Regions from separate parts of the Homo sapiens genome. Here region 2 is linked to region 1. Evidence: promoter capture Hi-C in human tissues and cell types (Jung and others, 2019). All regions are on one chromosome and are shown on one strand. The core of a region is centred on a gene start or on the middle of the fragment in contact, and the rest is flanking DNA. Distances in the headings are between cores, read along the strand shown. Region 1 holds the start of SULF2 (sulfatase 2). Region 2 has its middle 29 kb from the start of ARFGEF2.

Evidence for each region. Contacts are between HindIII fragments. The study calls those that stand out against the background at their distance.
Region 2: a fragment that was not itself captured here is called in contact with the fragment with the promoter of SULF2 in region 1 in 2 of the 25 tissues and cell types used here (mesendoderm cells and thymus).

Annotation. Positions count from the first base shown.
Region 1 is chr20:47,783,819-47,786,730 of GRCh38, forward strand. It overlaps SULF2 (sulfatase 2), which reads right to left and starts at 1,663. Exons shown (of 21, transcript NM_001387048.1): 1 at 1,525-1,663. LOC124904920 (a long non-coding RNA gene) reads left to right here and starts at 1,936. Exons shown (of 2, transcript XR_007067618.1): 1 at 1,936-2,344; 2 at 2,587-2,912. RefSeq lists an enhancer at 2,781-2,912. The HindIII fragment of the contact is 5,454 bases long and covers 35-2,912 here.
Region 2 is chr20:48,891,245-48,894,156 of GRCh38, forward strand. No RefSeq gene overlaps it. Among named protein-coding and RNA genes, the nearest start is that of ARFGEF2, 29 kb to the right of the region's middle. The HindIII fragment of the contact is 6,824 bases long and covers 1-2,912 here.

The DNA of each region.
Region 1 (2,912 bases), core at 413-2,912:
CTTATTAGAACGCTAAATTACACATCCGACAGGCTGTCTGGATGAGTTTTCTCTTCTCTATGATGTGGGAGAGACGAAGCTGGGGAGAACATCTCTTACAGGGAAGGGGCCCCCTTCGTTCTGTCCTCCCTACCCCGTTCCTATACTTAACGATTGGCTCTAATTTAATTAGAACCCTCTGGTGGTTCTGTAATGGGAGGCAGAGGCTGTCAAGAAATCACCTTCACTATTCACTACAAGCTGAAATTTGGAGAGCGCGCAGATCCGGGGGTGTCCTCCAGAGAAAGCCCGTCTCTCCTGCTCCCTGTCTCCCCCTGAGAACCTGCTCCAGCGCAGCCTCCCCTTCTCTGCCCCAAAAGTGGGGGTGGACCCGGTGGGAAACAGGCAGGGGACAGATGGAGGGGCGAGAGGGCGGGTGTCCCAACACGCACAGATGAGCAAATACCCAGATTGAAACGTAAGCTGAATGTAATTACTTGGTTAATTAAATATTGACTTTTAACTCAAAAAGTGATTAAAACAAGCTGCAGGAAGACTTTCCAGAAAGGGGGGCAGGGAATGAATCAAAGCTTTCAAGGGGGAGGAGGAGGAGGAGAGGGTCGTCACAGGCAGGTCTGGCTTGCTCTTCCTACTGTGTGCTGGGCCTACTGCGTGCAGGTGGGGGAGTTGCGGACCGAGGCCAGTGTGCAAACTAGGATTGCAGGCTTCCCTTTCCATCTTCCACCCCGAGACGGCATCTCTCTACCCTGCTGCCCTCCCAGTGAACCGGCAGCTTCTGGCGCGCAGGAGCCAGATCCTGTTCAGCCGCGTTTCCCTGGAACAGAACGCGGTGCCCGGCACGAGGGGGTGCTCCAGAAATGCTTGTAGAACGAATGAACGAACTACTATAAGGAATGTTTGGAAAAGTGCACTCCTAGAATTCACCGCTAGACTTCTGAAACCCCGAGGAGCCGGGGAGGGGAGCATCCCTCCGCCAGGCGATGGAAACTCGTTCTGCCCTGGCCTGGGAGGAAGTCTGCCTTTTCGATCCTGTTTGTCCTTTCGGTGTCTGCGAGTTTCCAACCACTCTGAAGATCCGGCCCACTGCTTCCCCGAGTCCTGCCCGGACAAGCCCCACGTGGGCTGGCATCTACCGGTCCCTTGGGTCTAAACCCTAAGGGTCAACAAGGCCATGCCCCTGCGGATGGCCGGCCCAGGCGCGCTCCCCTACCCGGGGCCGCCTGTGCTCGGTGTGCCGTGTCCGCGGGTCAGGGGCGCGGCGGGAAGTCCTCGCCCGCCCGCCAGCCAGCGGGGTCAAACAGGTCATCCCTCTGCGGACGGCCGGCGCCGGAGCCTCCCTCCCGCCCGCCCGGACCCACCTCCGCAAGCAGCGCTGGGGCTGGAGCCGGGCGGTCCGGACCAGCCCCGGCTCACCTGGGCGGCGCTCGCGGCCGGGCTCACGCCGGGGAAGGCTCCGGCCGCCGCGAGCCCCCGCCCGAGCCCCGCGTCCCCCAGCCACCCACCTGCCCCCCACGCCCCACTCACCAGCGCGCACGGCCCCGGCAACCTCACCCGGAGCGGGGCGCCGCCGCCGCCTCTGCCGCAGCCCGGCCGGGCCGCTGGGCGCAGGGGACTCCGCGCCGCCGCTGCCGCTGCCGCCGCCGCCGCCGCCGCTGCCGCTGCTGCATCCCCCGGCGAGCGCTGCTGCTCCTCCTCCTGCCTCCTCCCCGCCCCCCAACGCCGCCGCCACCGCCCCCGGCCCCCTCCCCGCGCGCCGCCCCAGCCAAAGTCCGGCTCCGCACCCCGCCCGGACCGCTCTTAAATCGCCCCAGCCCGGCCGGCCACGCTGCCCCAGCCAGCCCCTTGGCACGGCGCTACCGCCCCCCGCTCGCCTGCCCGCCGGCCTCCACGCAGGGGAGGCGGGCGCGCTCCGGGGCGGGGAGCGTCGGGCCGGGAGCCGCGGACGGCTGGGGCCCGGGGCGCGGGGGGCCCAGCCGCGGTGCCCTCCTCGAGCCCTCCGCGCGCTAGCGCTTTTACCTCCGGCCTGGGGGACGCGCGGCCCGCGACCCGGCCCTGCCTGTCCCCGGCGCACGGCCCCGGCCCCGGCCCCGAAGTCCAGCTCCGGACGGGGCAGTGAACGCAGAGCTGGGGTCCCGGCGGCTCTCGACCTCCCGATGCCTCCGGACTCGGCTGGCCGCGCTCCCGGCGCCGAGCGCGCACCCTCGCCGGGACACACAGACGCACACTCACTCGACACACTCTCGCTCCTGCTCGCCCTCGGCGGAGAGTTGAAACAGATGTGGGATTCGCCCAGGAGCTGGAAACGAGGGAGGGAAGCGAGCCAGAGCCTTGTGTGCACGTGTGTGTGCGTAACACACAAACCAGGGGGCATCGCTAATAAATCAAATATCGTGATAAATTCAGGAGGGCCATCGATCAGGTCCACTTGGCTGGAAACGACGTGAATCTGCCTCTTTTCCGCTTTCTTCTTCTCCTCTCTCGGAGCTGGAGGGAGCCAAATGTTCCGCGGGGAGTGCGACAGCCCCGGCCGGGCGCTCCCCTCGTAATGACACGTTAATAAATGTTTTCTTTTATCTGCTTTCACAGGACTCGCCCCGGTCTGCAAACACTCGACTGCCTTTGCCGAAAGCCTCGCGCTCGCCTCCAGCCACACACATTTGCCATTGGAGAGGCCGGCGCCGGCCGCGACCCGCAGCTCAATCGCAGGGCAAACCGAGCTGCCTGTGCGCGCCCGAGAACTCCCCGAGAAATTAACTTCGGCTCAAGTGAAAATAGCAGCTGTTGTCCAGAAATGGCCCGGGAGTAGCATAGAAAGGAGAAACCGGCTTCCTCCGAAAGGGGAGGAATTGGACTCAAGGGGGTGCTGTCTACCGTGGTTTCCGCTGTCCCTCGCGCCACAGAAGAGGCCGGAG
Region 2 (2,912 bases), core at 125-2,624, 1.1 Mb after region 1:
GAGGAAGAGGAAGGAGAAGGAGGAGAAGGAGAAGAGGAAGAAGAGGAAGAAAAAGAGGAAAAAGAAGAGGAAGAGGAAGAAGAAGAAAAGAAGAAGAAGAACAAGAACAAGAAGAAGGGGAAGAAGAAGAAGAAGAAGAAGAGGAAGAGGAAGAAGAAGAGGAAGAGGAAGGAGAAGGAGGAGAAGGAGAAGAAGAGGAAGAAGAGGAAGAAGAAGAGGAAAAAGAAGAGGAAAAAGAAGAGGAAGAGGAAGAAGAAGAAAAGAAGAAGAAGAACAAGAACAAGAACAAGAAGAAGGGGAAGAAGAAGAAGAAGAGGAAGAGGAAGAGGAAGAAGAAGAAGAAGAAGAGGAAGAAGAAGAAGAGGAAGAGGAAGAAGAAGAGGAAGAATGCTTCCTAGAACCAGTTGGGAATTGAAAGCAGTATCTGGAGTTGGGTGAGAAGAAGAAGGGACTTGAAGGGGCAAAGGAAACTCAAGCTTTGTTCAGCTGCAGTTGTCAAGTGTGCTGGGCTCTCCCCAGGGAAGACACCCACCTGCTGGGGATGACACACCTTGCCGGGAAAACAAGGTGCTGGTGTGTGCAGTGGTACAGGGCACTGAAAAGAACGTGGCCTAGGACACGGACAGACCTGGCTGGCTTGAGCCCCTTATGAGCCTCAGGCTTGGAGCAAGTCTCTGAAGCACAACTTCTCAGCCATTGCTCTATGGACAGTGACAGCCAGATCACTCTTTGCAGTGGGGGCTGTCCTGGGTATTGTAGGATGTTTAGCAGTATGCACCGTCTCTACCCACTAGGTGCCAGGAGCAGCTCCTCCCCCCAAGTTGTGACAACTAAAAAAATGTCTCCATTGACATTGTCGACATTGCCAAGTGTCCCCAGGGGCACAAAATCATCCCCAGTTGAGAACTACAGCTTTAAATCTAATTAAGCCTTCCTGGTCAAATTGGGATAACAGTGATAGTAATACTGCCTTGTATGGTGGCTGTGAGGATTTCCTTCCTTCCCTCCTTCCTTCCTTCCTTCCTTCCTTCCTTCCTTCCTTCCTTCCTTTTCTCTTTCTTTCTTTACTTTTAGAGACAGGGTCTCACTTTGTTACCCAGGCTGGAGTGCAGTAGTGCAATCATGGCTCACTGCACCCTCGACCTCCTGGGTTCAAACGATCCTCCTGCTTCACCCTCCTAAATAGCTGAGACTACAAGCATGTGCCACCATGCCCAGCTAATTTTAAAAAATTTTTTTGTGGAGATGAGGGTCTCGCTATGTTGCCCAGCGTGGTCTCGAACTCCTAGCCTCAATCCATCCTCCTGCCTCAGCCTCCCAAAGCCCCGGGATTACAGGTGTGAGCCCCTGTACCTAGCCAGGGCATTTCTTGAGCATTTACTAGATGCCAGTGGCTGTGCTCATGCTTTCATGCATCAGCTCCCCTCCTCCCATAGCCCATCCCACATGGTGCTTTTACCCTCATCCTCCCTACATAGATGAAGAAACTGTAAACATCTTTCTTTTCATCACATTCACATTCAACCAATACCTCCCAAGGAAGGGCCTCTTATGTGCCAGGATTCTGGGAGGGATTGTGGCACATATGTAATCTCACTGGTTTCTGGGTGGGTTTGGCTAGTTGAGAACCACTCACAGTAGACCGAAGGGTGAAAGGAGGGGAGAATCCAGGATATTTTCTCTCGTTCTCTCTCTCTGTGCCTCCAAAGCATCATCAGCAGCTGCTGTGCCTCATCTGTGGCTGCAGATCCAGCTGTACAGTCTGTCCCTTGGTGATCCTGGATCTAGCTGGGCAGGCCATCAGGATTCTGTCTCCTGCCAGGTGGCCCAGCTTCAACTTCACAGCATGGTAGCACCAACTGTTCTCTGCTCCTCCCCCAACAAAGATGGCATCATCTTCCTGCTATGGTTTAGCACTGAGTTGTCTAACATGCCATTTGGCTTCTCACTTCTATCATCTGTGTGACCAATTCCTTGTATTATATTCCCTCTATTTGAATACCTAGTGGGATTTCTGCTTCTCTGATTGGTCTCTGACGGCTCCATATGAGATTTGGTTTCCTAGTTCATGCTCTTGGACACCACAATAATCAGCTCTTTGCTGTACATGGAGTATATCTCCTGAATATAAAGATAAATGTGTTTGATAGATGTATTAGTCAGGACTCTTTTGATTGCAAGTGACAGAAAACCAGCCTTAATTGGTTTAAGCAGAAGAAGGGAATTTATTGGCTTATGTAACTGAAAAGTCCAGGGGATGTTTGGCTTCAGGTACAGTTTGATCCAGCAACTGCAATGCTGTTGTCAGTATGTCTCCATCTCTAGCTCTTCTTTCCTCTGTGTTGACCTCATGCTTAGGCAAGCTCTTCCACTAAGGTGACAGACAATGGTTTCAGCATCAACAAACCTACACCCTTCAAGTTTACCAACTTCAGTAGAAAGTCCTCTTTCTCAATATTTCCAGCTGAAGTCCCAGGCAGGATTCTCATTGGTCCAGCTTGGAACACATGCCTGTTTCTGAGCCAATTACTGTGACAAGGCAAGATACTGGGTTATACATCGAACCCCTGCAGCTGGACAGTGGGGTCAGCATCCCCCAAACCACAAAGTCCAAGAATGGGAGTGAGGTGGTTCCTGAGAATAGTGAAGGGGTGTTGTTACCAAACATCAATGCATGTGCACTGATAGATACATGTTATTTGGTTTACTCGATGGTGATGCCGAGCTAACCAGCAGATCAGGAGGAGCAGAAGATTAGCAATCAGAAGACCCATGTTTGAGCTCAGGGTCTTCAGGCACCCTTCTCTGAACTGCAATTTTCTCATGCATAAAATTCAACAAAAAACAATAACCGGCCGGGCGCAGTGGCTCACGCCTATAATCCCAGCACTTTGGGAGGCCGAGATGGGCAG